Regions from separate parts of the Homo sapiens genome. Here region 1 is linked to region 2. The links are contacts of gene promoters, found by promoter capture Hi-C in blood cells and fetal thymus (Javierre and others, 2016). All regions are on one chromosome and are shown on one strand. The core of a region is centred on a gene start or on the middle of the fragment in contact, and the rest is flanking DNA. Distances in the headings are between cores, read along the strand shown. Region 1 holds the start of TEDDM1 (transmembrane epididymal protein 1). Region 2 holds the start of ARPC5 (actin related protein 2/3 complex subunit 5).

What was found. Contacts are between HindIII fragments. The CHiCAGO score rates a contact against its expected background, and 5 or more counts as called.
Region 1: a contact is called between the fragment with the promoter of TEDDM1 here and the fragment with the promoter of ARPC5 in region 2, in 1 of 17 cell types (neutrophils). The highest score is 5.2, in neutrophils.

Annotation. Positions count from the first base shown.
Region 1 is chr1:182,398,915-182,402,792 of GRCh38, reverse strand. TEDDM1 (transmembrane epididymal protein 1) reads left to right here and starts at 2,126. Exons shown (of 1, transcript NM_172000.4): 1 at 2,126-3,878. The coding sequence starts at 2,308. The coding sequence ends at 3,129. The HindIII fragment of the contact is 8,350 bases long and covers 1-3,878 here.
Region 2 is chr1:183,633,481-183,637,126 of GRCh38, reverse strand. ARPC5 (actin related protein 2/3 complex subunit 5) reads left to right here and starts at 1,344. Exons shown (of 4, transcript NM_005717.4): 1 at 1,344-1,610. The coding sequence starts at 1,468. It also overlaps a transcript of RGL1 not described here. RefSeq lists silencers at 1,061-1,220, 1,701-1,750, 1,831-1,890, 1,842-2,060 and enhancers at 1,371-1,650, 1,648-2,148. The HindIII fragment of the contact is 3,712 bases long and covers 1-2,313 here.

The sequences.
Region 1 (3,878 bases), core at 877-3,376, 1.2 Mb after region 2:
GAAACCCCATCTCTACTAAAAATATAGAAAATTTAAGCGGTGTGGTGGCATGCACCTGTAGTCCCGACTATTCGGGAGGCTGAGTCCGGAGAATTGCTTGAACCCAGCAGGCAGAGGTTGCAGTGAGCTGAGATCGTGCCACTGCACTCCAGCCTGGGCAACAGAGACAGACTCAGTCTCAAAACAAAAAACAAACAAACAAAAAATGTGGTACACTTTAAATACAGTAGTCCTCCCTTACCTGCAGTTTCATGTTCTTAGGTTTCAGTTACTCACAGTTAACTGCAGTCTGAAAATATTATAGTATTTTGAGAGAGAGAGAGAGAAATTATATTCACACTTTTATTTCAGCATCATTTTATAATTGTTCTATTTTATTTTGAGTTATTATTGCTAATCTCTTGCTGTGCCTAATTTGTAAACTAAACTTTATTATAGGTATGTATACATGTATGGGGAAACCAGTATATGTAGGGTTCAGTACTAACCTATCCCAGGTTTCAGGCATCCACTGGGAGTCTTAGAAAGTATCACCCATGGATAAGGAGGGGCTATATAGACATTAATTTTTATAAAAAAAATAAATGGGGGCTGCTTTGCCTATAGAGTAGCCATTCTTTTATTCCTTTTTTTCTTAATAAATGTGCTTTCATTTTAAAAAATAAAAAATAATGAATAAATAAATAAATGGGGCCAGGTACGGTGGCTCACGCCTGTAATCCCAGTACTTTGGGAGGCTGAGGTGGGTGGATCACTTGAGCCCAGGAGTTTGAGACCCAGCATGGACAATGTAGTGAGACCTCATCTCTACAAAAAATAGCTGGATGTGGTGGCTCATGTCTGTTGTCCCAGCTACTCAGCAGCTGAGGCAGGAGGATTGATTGAGCTCAGGAGGTTGAGGCTGCAGTGAGCCGTCATCAAGCCACTGCACTGCAACCTGGGCAACAAAGCGAGACACTGTCTAAAAATAAAAATAAAAATAGAAATAAAAATAAATAAATGAAGACTCTTGCCTTGGATGCAACCCCTCATATGCAGCTGGCTGCTACCTAGTGCTTAGAACTCTTTCTGCCTATATGTGTTAGACACATAGTAAATGATAATTAAAGAGAGAATAAAGTTGAGGACCTAATTCACATTAAAATATAAGCAGTTTGTTGGATCTACTTATCTCAACATATCTGCATTTTAATAAAAAATTATACCTTAACATTCCAAAATTGATCTCAAAAGGTGACATTTTACATTCATCTACTGTTCTTTGGAAAGATAATTTGGGGCAATTGAGCTGCTTTCTTTGTGATCCCCAAAAACTGTTACAGAAGAATGAAGAGGACAAGAGCTCAGTATCTATATATATGAGCACACATCCAAACGTTTATAAACTTTTATGTCTAGGAAGAATGTATTTGCTCTCAGTATATGACCCAACATATGAGTAAGGAGTCTTTTTTTTTTTTGAGACAGTCTCGCTCTGTCACCCAGGCTGGAGTGTAGTGAGATGATCCTGGCCCACTGCAACATCCGCCTCCCGGGTTCAAGTAATTCTCCTGCCTCAGCCTTCCAAGTGGCTGGGATTACAGGCACTCTTTACCATGCCCAGCTAGTTTTTGTATTTTTAGTGGAGATGGGATTTCACCATGTTGGCCAGGCTGATCTCGAACTCCTGACCTCGAGATCTGCCTTGGCCTCCCAAAGTGCTGGGATTACAGGCTTGAGCCACCATGCCTGTCCGAGTAAGGAGTCTTAAAGGATGCATTAAGGTTTGTGAGTAACCCGGGTCTTCTCTGGATAATCTCCGTGCTCAGGCACCTCTCTTTTTCTACTCCGAGCATTGAACAGGGGCAGAAGGAAGCAAGCCATGAGAGAGAGGGACAAGTGTAACCAGAAGGTCCTCAAGGGTCCAAAAGCAGAGCTCCTGAGAGCACAAATTCCCACAGGTGCATACTAAAAAATATTTATGTTTCTACTTTGGCAGAACTCAATTAGTTCCCAGTGTACTGGAATGAAATGGAACAATGAGACCCACCTCACTAAAAACCTAGGCTCCTGTCCAGAACTTTCCAGTCTGTGAGAGAGCAGTGGGCAGAAGGAGATGATAAAAGTAGGTAGAACTTAGCTCTGTATATATAGGCCCAGAACTCGAGAGGCCTGTGAGGGAGAGGAGAGCAGAGAGGTCCTGAGTATTGCTCTTCACGCTTCAGTCGGACAGGCCTGTATTCCATGGGAAAGTCCATTGGCCATTTTTAACTGGGGCTATTTCTTTTCTCTTATGGACTATATCAGGCCACAGTGGTCTCCAAGGGCATGATACTCAAAGGTTGTCTCCTGTATCCTTTGTGCTCTCCCAGGAATAAGCAAAGATGTGCCAGGCTGTGGAAAATAGCCTATGGAGGATTACTAAAGATAGTGACTGGCTCCCTCTTAACATTTTATGTGGTTCTCTGTCTTGATGGCGGGATGGTGCTCATGAGGAAGCAAGTGCCATCAAGGTTCATGTACCCCAAAGAGTGGCAGCACCTCACCATGTTCATCCTCCTCACTCTTAATGGCTGTGTGGACTTCATGAGCAAGAATGTGCTGCCTCAGAGGTGTGTGGGCCTAGAAAAAGGTACCCTGGTCCTGATCATCTACGAGCTCCTGCTGCTGATGGTGTCACATGTTAAAGATTCAGAAGGGGTGGAGCTGCACGTTTATTCTCTGCTCATCTTGGTGGTGTTCCTGCTGTTGCTGGTGTTGACTGCAGAGCTGTGGGCTCCCAACATGTGTCATCTCCAGCTGATGGAGACCTTTCTGATTCTGATGATGGGCTCCTGGCTGATGCAGGCAGGCTTTATTCTATACAGACCCGTCTCTGGCTACCCATGGCAGGACGATGACATCAGTGACATCATGTTTGTCACCACCTTCTTCTGCTGGCATGTGATGATCAATGCCTCATTCCTGTTGGGAATCTATGGCTTCTCTTCCTTTTGGTATCATTGTTTCAGACCCAGCTTGAAGCTGACTGGGCCCAAAGAAGCTCCATATTATGCAAGCACTCCAGGACCCCTCTACAAGTTGCTACAGGAAGTGGAGCAGTCAGAGAAAGAGGACCAGGCTCTCCTCCTTCCAAAGAGCTCCCCCTGAGACAGGGCCTACAGTGGCTGGCACATCGTCCACCTCATCTTCCTCCTGTTGGCTCCTCAGCCACGAGCATGGTACCCTCCTTGGTAAAGGTAATGGCCTTGAAGGCTAGCAGTTGGTCCCGTCTGCTGGTTCATTTTCTTTTCTTCTCTTTTCTTTTTTTTTTTTTTTGAGACAGAGTCTCGCTCTGTTGCCCAGCCTGGAGTGCAATGGCACAATCTCAGCTCAGTGCAACCTCCGCCTCCCGAGTTCAAGCGATTCTCCTGCCTCAGCCTCCCGAGTAGCTGCAATTACAGGAGCCTGCCACCATGCCCGTGCTGGTGCATTTTCTGTCCCTGAGCCTCTAATTACTGAGAAGATAAGGGGAGAGGGATTGAGAAAGAGACGCTGATGGGATTTGCGGGAGGGAGGGAAAAGGACGAGGAGAACACTTCTTCTTAGTGTGCAAGAAAAGCCACTGGGGGAAGAGAATGCAACAAAAGGAAGAGCTGTGAAGGGAGGAGAACAGAGTCTAGCAGTTATGCTGTCATTAGCGTCATCAGGCACAAGGGATTGCCTTTTACCTGAGGGAATAAAGACTTCTCACAACTCAAAACTGGACCCATTCAAATCTCATCTTGATAAAGAAAAGTGGGTACTTTACGTGCTCACCAAAGTGGTGCCACCATGTGGAAATAGCATGATAGAATTTATAATTAATTCATACAGGCTGAAATTATGCTCGCTTTGCCTCCTTCTCTCTCCGCAGCTTT
Region 2 (3,646 bases), core at 95-2,594:
TCCATTTCAGTGATGAGGAATCTGAGACAGAATTTTAAGTGACATGTCTCGTTCAAACATTATGAGTGGAAGAGTCAACACTTAAGCCTGAGTTTTCTGATTCTAAGCCTAGTGCTCTTTTCAACACAGCACTGGAAACCAAAGATTGTGGTACACAACAGGGCAACAGCCAGTCTTCTGCTCGAGGTCCAACTAAACTGGACCCATACCGAGCAGTGTCCAGCCAAATGTCCAAATTAATTTTATCCTGCAAATATTTGTTCTTCAGTGTAATACACACAGCACAACTACCATTTCCTTCGTCTTAGTGCCTTTATCTCCTACATTCCAGAAATGGGGATGTCAAATATTTTTTTAAATCTGGCCTAGATGGAATCATATAAATCTCAAATCATAATATAAATCTTAAAGGTCTGGTTTCCACCAATCCTTCCACATTTTGTTTTCCCCCAGCACTAGAGAGCCTAACCTACCCTCACCCCTTTCGAGCATTCTTGCTCCAAACGACCACCTATTTTAAGATGTCAATGACCCTTTCCCAAATTCTACAAATTCACCCCAGTTTTGCCACCCGACCCCAGCGCCTGCCCGGACACGTTCCCCTCCCTCCCAATAGATTTGATACCGAGTTCAGGTTCTGCAGATCCCGTTGCGATGCTGTCACACAGCACTGACAGATAAGATTTGACCTTTCGACTCCGTCCTTGGGGACTTCCCGCTGGCCAAGAAGGGTAGTTCCAATCCCAGGAAACGGGCTTCCTGCTCAGGAACGCAGCCTCTAGCAGCGCACAGTCTGAGGCAATGTCTCCGGCAATTAGAACGATGCTGGGCGCCCGGGTGTGCATCACTCTGCCTCATACTCCTACCAACTGCAGGGCACTCGGTCCGGCAGCCAGTCCATCCCACCCACAGCCAAGTCCCAGCCAGCCGGACCTTACGCAGGACCCCGATGATAGGTCGTTGACGGCTGCAGCAAAAGCCAAGGCCACCTGCCGCTGCTGCCCATCCCCGCCAATCTGAGACCCCCTAGACTGGACCGCAGAAAAGCGTTTCTATGGGAACCCCCCCACCGAGAATCACGTGACGCAATCGGACGACCAATCGCTTCTTACCTCTGCCCGCGGTCCAGCTTTTGGCCCTCCCTCTCGCCCCCGCCTCCTTCGCCCAGCCCCGCCCCTTGCCTGCGGAGAGCCCGCGCCTGCGCGCTGTGTCCTGCGCGCTCCTTCCCTCGCGCGCGCTCTCCGTGGAAGAGCAGGGGCAGCGTGGGAGGCGCCAAGGGAGCGCGAACCTGAGGAGGAAGAAACGGGGCTAGCGCGCAGGCCCAGAACGGTCCGAGCCGCGGCAGTCGGCGACGCCTCAGAGCGGAAGAGGGAAGTGAATCAGGCGCCGGGTAGTGGGTTGCTGGGCTGGGCTTGCTGAGGTAGAGGCAGCGCCAAGAAGAGGCCTTTGCCGCTGGTCGGGATTGGGATGTCGAAGAACACAGTGTCGTCGGCCCGCTTCCGGAAGGTGGACGTGGATGAATATGACGAGAACAAGTTCGTGGACGAAGAAGATGGGGGCGACGGCCAGGCCGGGCCCGACGAGGGCGAGGTGGACTCCTGCCTGCGGCAATATCCTTGCATTCACCGCCCTCCCCACCCCAGCCCAGCCCAGCCCGCCCTTCTCCTGGGACCCGGGAGCCTGCAGGATCCGCGGGGCACCGGCGCGGAGCTGCCCTCTCAACCTGCGGCTTAACCTGTCTCTTTGGGATCGCCCGCTCTGAGAGGGCAAGGGGGAAGCCCCCGTTTCCTACCCAGTCGGCAGGAGACGCGAGGGTCCCACTCTTGGAAGCCTGCCCTCCCCCGCGCGCCTTCCACGCCCCCAGATTCCTCAGGTTGCACCCGAGTGCCTGCCTGCCTCGGGAACTGGTCCCGCCGGCCGCGCCCTCGCGGCGCTGGGGAAGGCGGCCCCGGCTGGTGGGGAAGGCTGGTGCCGAGCGCCTTAGTTTTTCTTCCTAGAACTCTGATTTCCTGGGGTCACATTAGCTCCAGAAATTTCTGATTGTGGGGAACCTGCATCTTTCCTTAGTGGTTTTGTTTTTTGTTGTGTTTTTGTTATTGGTAGCGTTAAGGTAGTTTATTCCTTACCGGGGGGCGGGGGGAGATGGGACTGTTCGAAAATTGAGGGTCCCTGTGCTTTCAGCCCATTGGCCTTTTTAAAAAAAAAAAAAAAAGAAGAAGAAGAAGGGGATTTGGCAAAATATACATTGTACAGAATTTGTTAACTGGGGGAGGGGAATGAATACAAAAAATACAAAACTCCTAGAAGGAAGCTTGGAGCCTTTTACCTGCTAAGAAAAGGACAATAGAAAAAACAACGGGGAATGCGTGTGGAGAATCCTTGGAAATATTTAAAATAAACCCCAATGAATAAGATAGAAGATGAGTCATTCGTATAAAGCAGAATCATTTTTGTAATCCTAAAATTGTTTCCATTTTAGTTAAAATATGGCAGTCAGTTCCCGGTTTCTGTTTTTGCATATTTGAATATTCATAACTTTGGCTTCGCATTTGCATTACATCTTTTTTAGAAAAATGTAAATGTTGCAAAAAAACCGAAGCTGTAGTTTTAGAAAATCTCAGACACTGAATTTGTATGCATTTCTAATTCTTGGGTGTATTCATAAGGAAGACTCTCAACAATGTCCTGTTATAGTGGGGAAATATGAGAGTGAAAATATTTAATGGCAACAATATCCTTTTTTAAAGGCACCTAAATAGAGCATTAGACATTTATCAATATATAGATAGTGCTTTGCCACAACTTTCACAATTAATTAGCTGTTGCTCTTTTGCATTATTTAAATACTTAAGTGCTTGGAGTTATAAAAAATGAGCTAATCTACATCAGGCATGCTTCTCTAGAAATCCCTGCAGCCTTGAAAATAACAGCTTGTCAACCAGAGATTTTGTGTAAGAACTTTTTCTTTAGAAAATAAATGGTGAACATGCTTCCTAAAAACATTATTTGTGATGGATAGATGGTGTTTTATGAAACCCCAGTGTATTTTAGGTAATTTGTGGTGACTTTTAAATGGTACTGCTGTATCCATATCAGTGGATCTGCTTTTTGATCAGTTCATCTTAAAATATAAAGATACTGTCTCTTCTTACCGTTACATACAGCCAGGAAAGACAGCCCTAGTGGTGGGGTACTAGAGTTGGAGGAACAAGTGAACTCTGTGGTTTTCCTTTTAGGGGAATGTTTGTACATTCTGACAGTCTGATTGGCCTTCTGTTTCTCATGCTTGCTAACTCACTAGTGCTTTCAAAGAGAGCCTGAATTTAATAGGTATGGTCTAACACAGTTTGAATAACCTTTGTGAAATATGAGAGAAAATATCTAAAGCAAAAAATTAAGCTGCCACCTAAGGGACATATGAATTATTACATCTTCTGTGATGCCTCTTTTCATCAATATTGAGAGATTGCTAATGTGTATCATTCAGATTGCTAATCTGCCAGCATGTTCTACCAGCATTTCAGATAATACAGAATATGGTTCTAGCAAAAGTTTGGTCTTTATTTTTTCAATTAGAATCACAGGAAAAGACATATTTTGGTTGATAATAGGTTATTTCATTTGGGGGACTAATAATTCTGATATA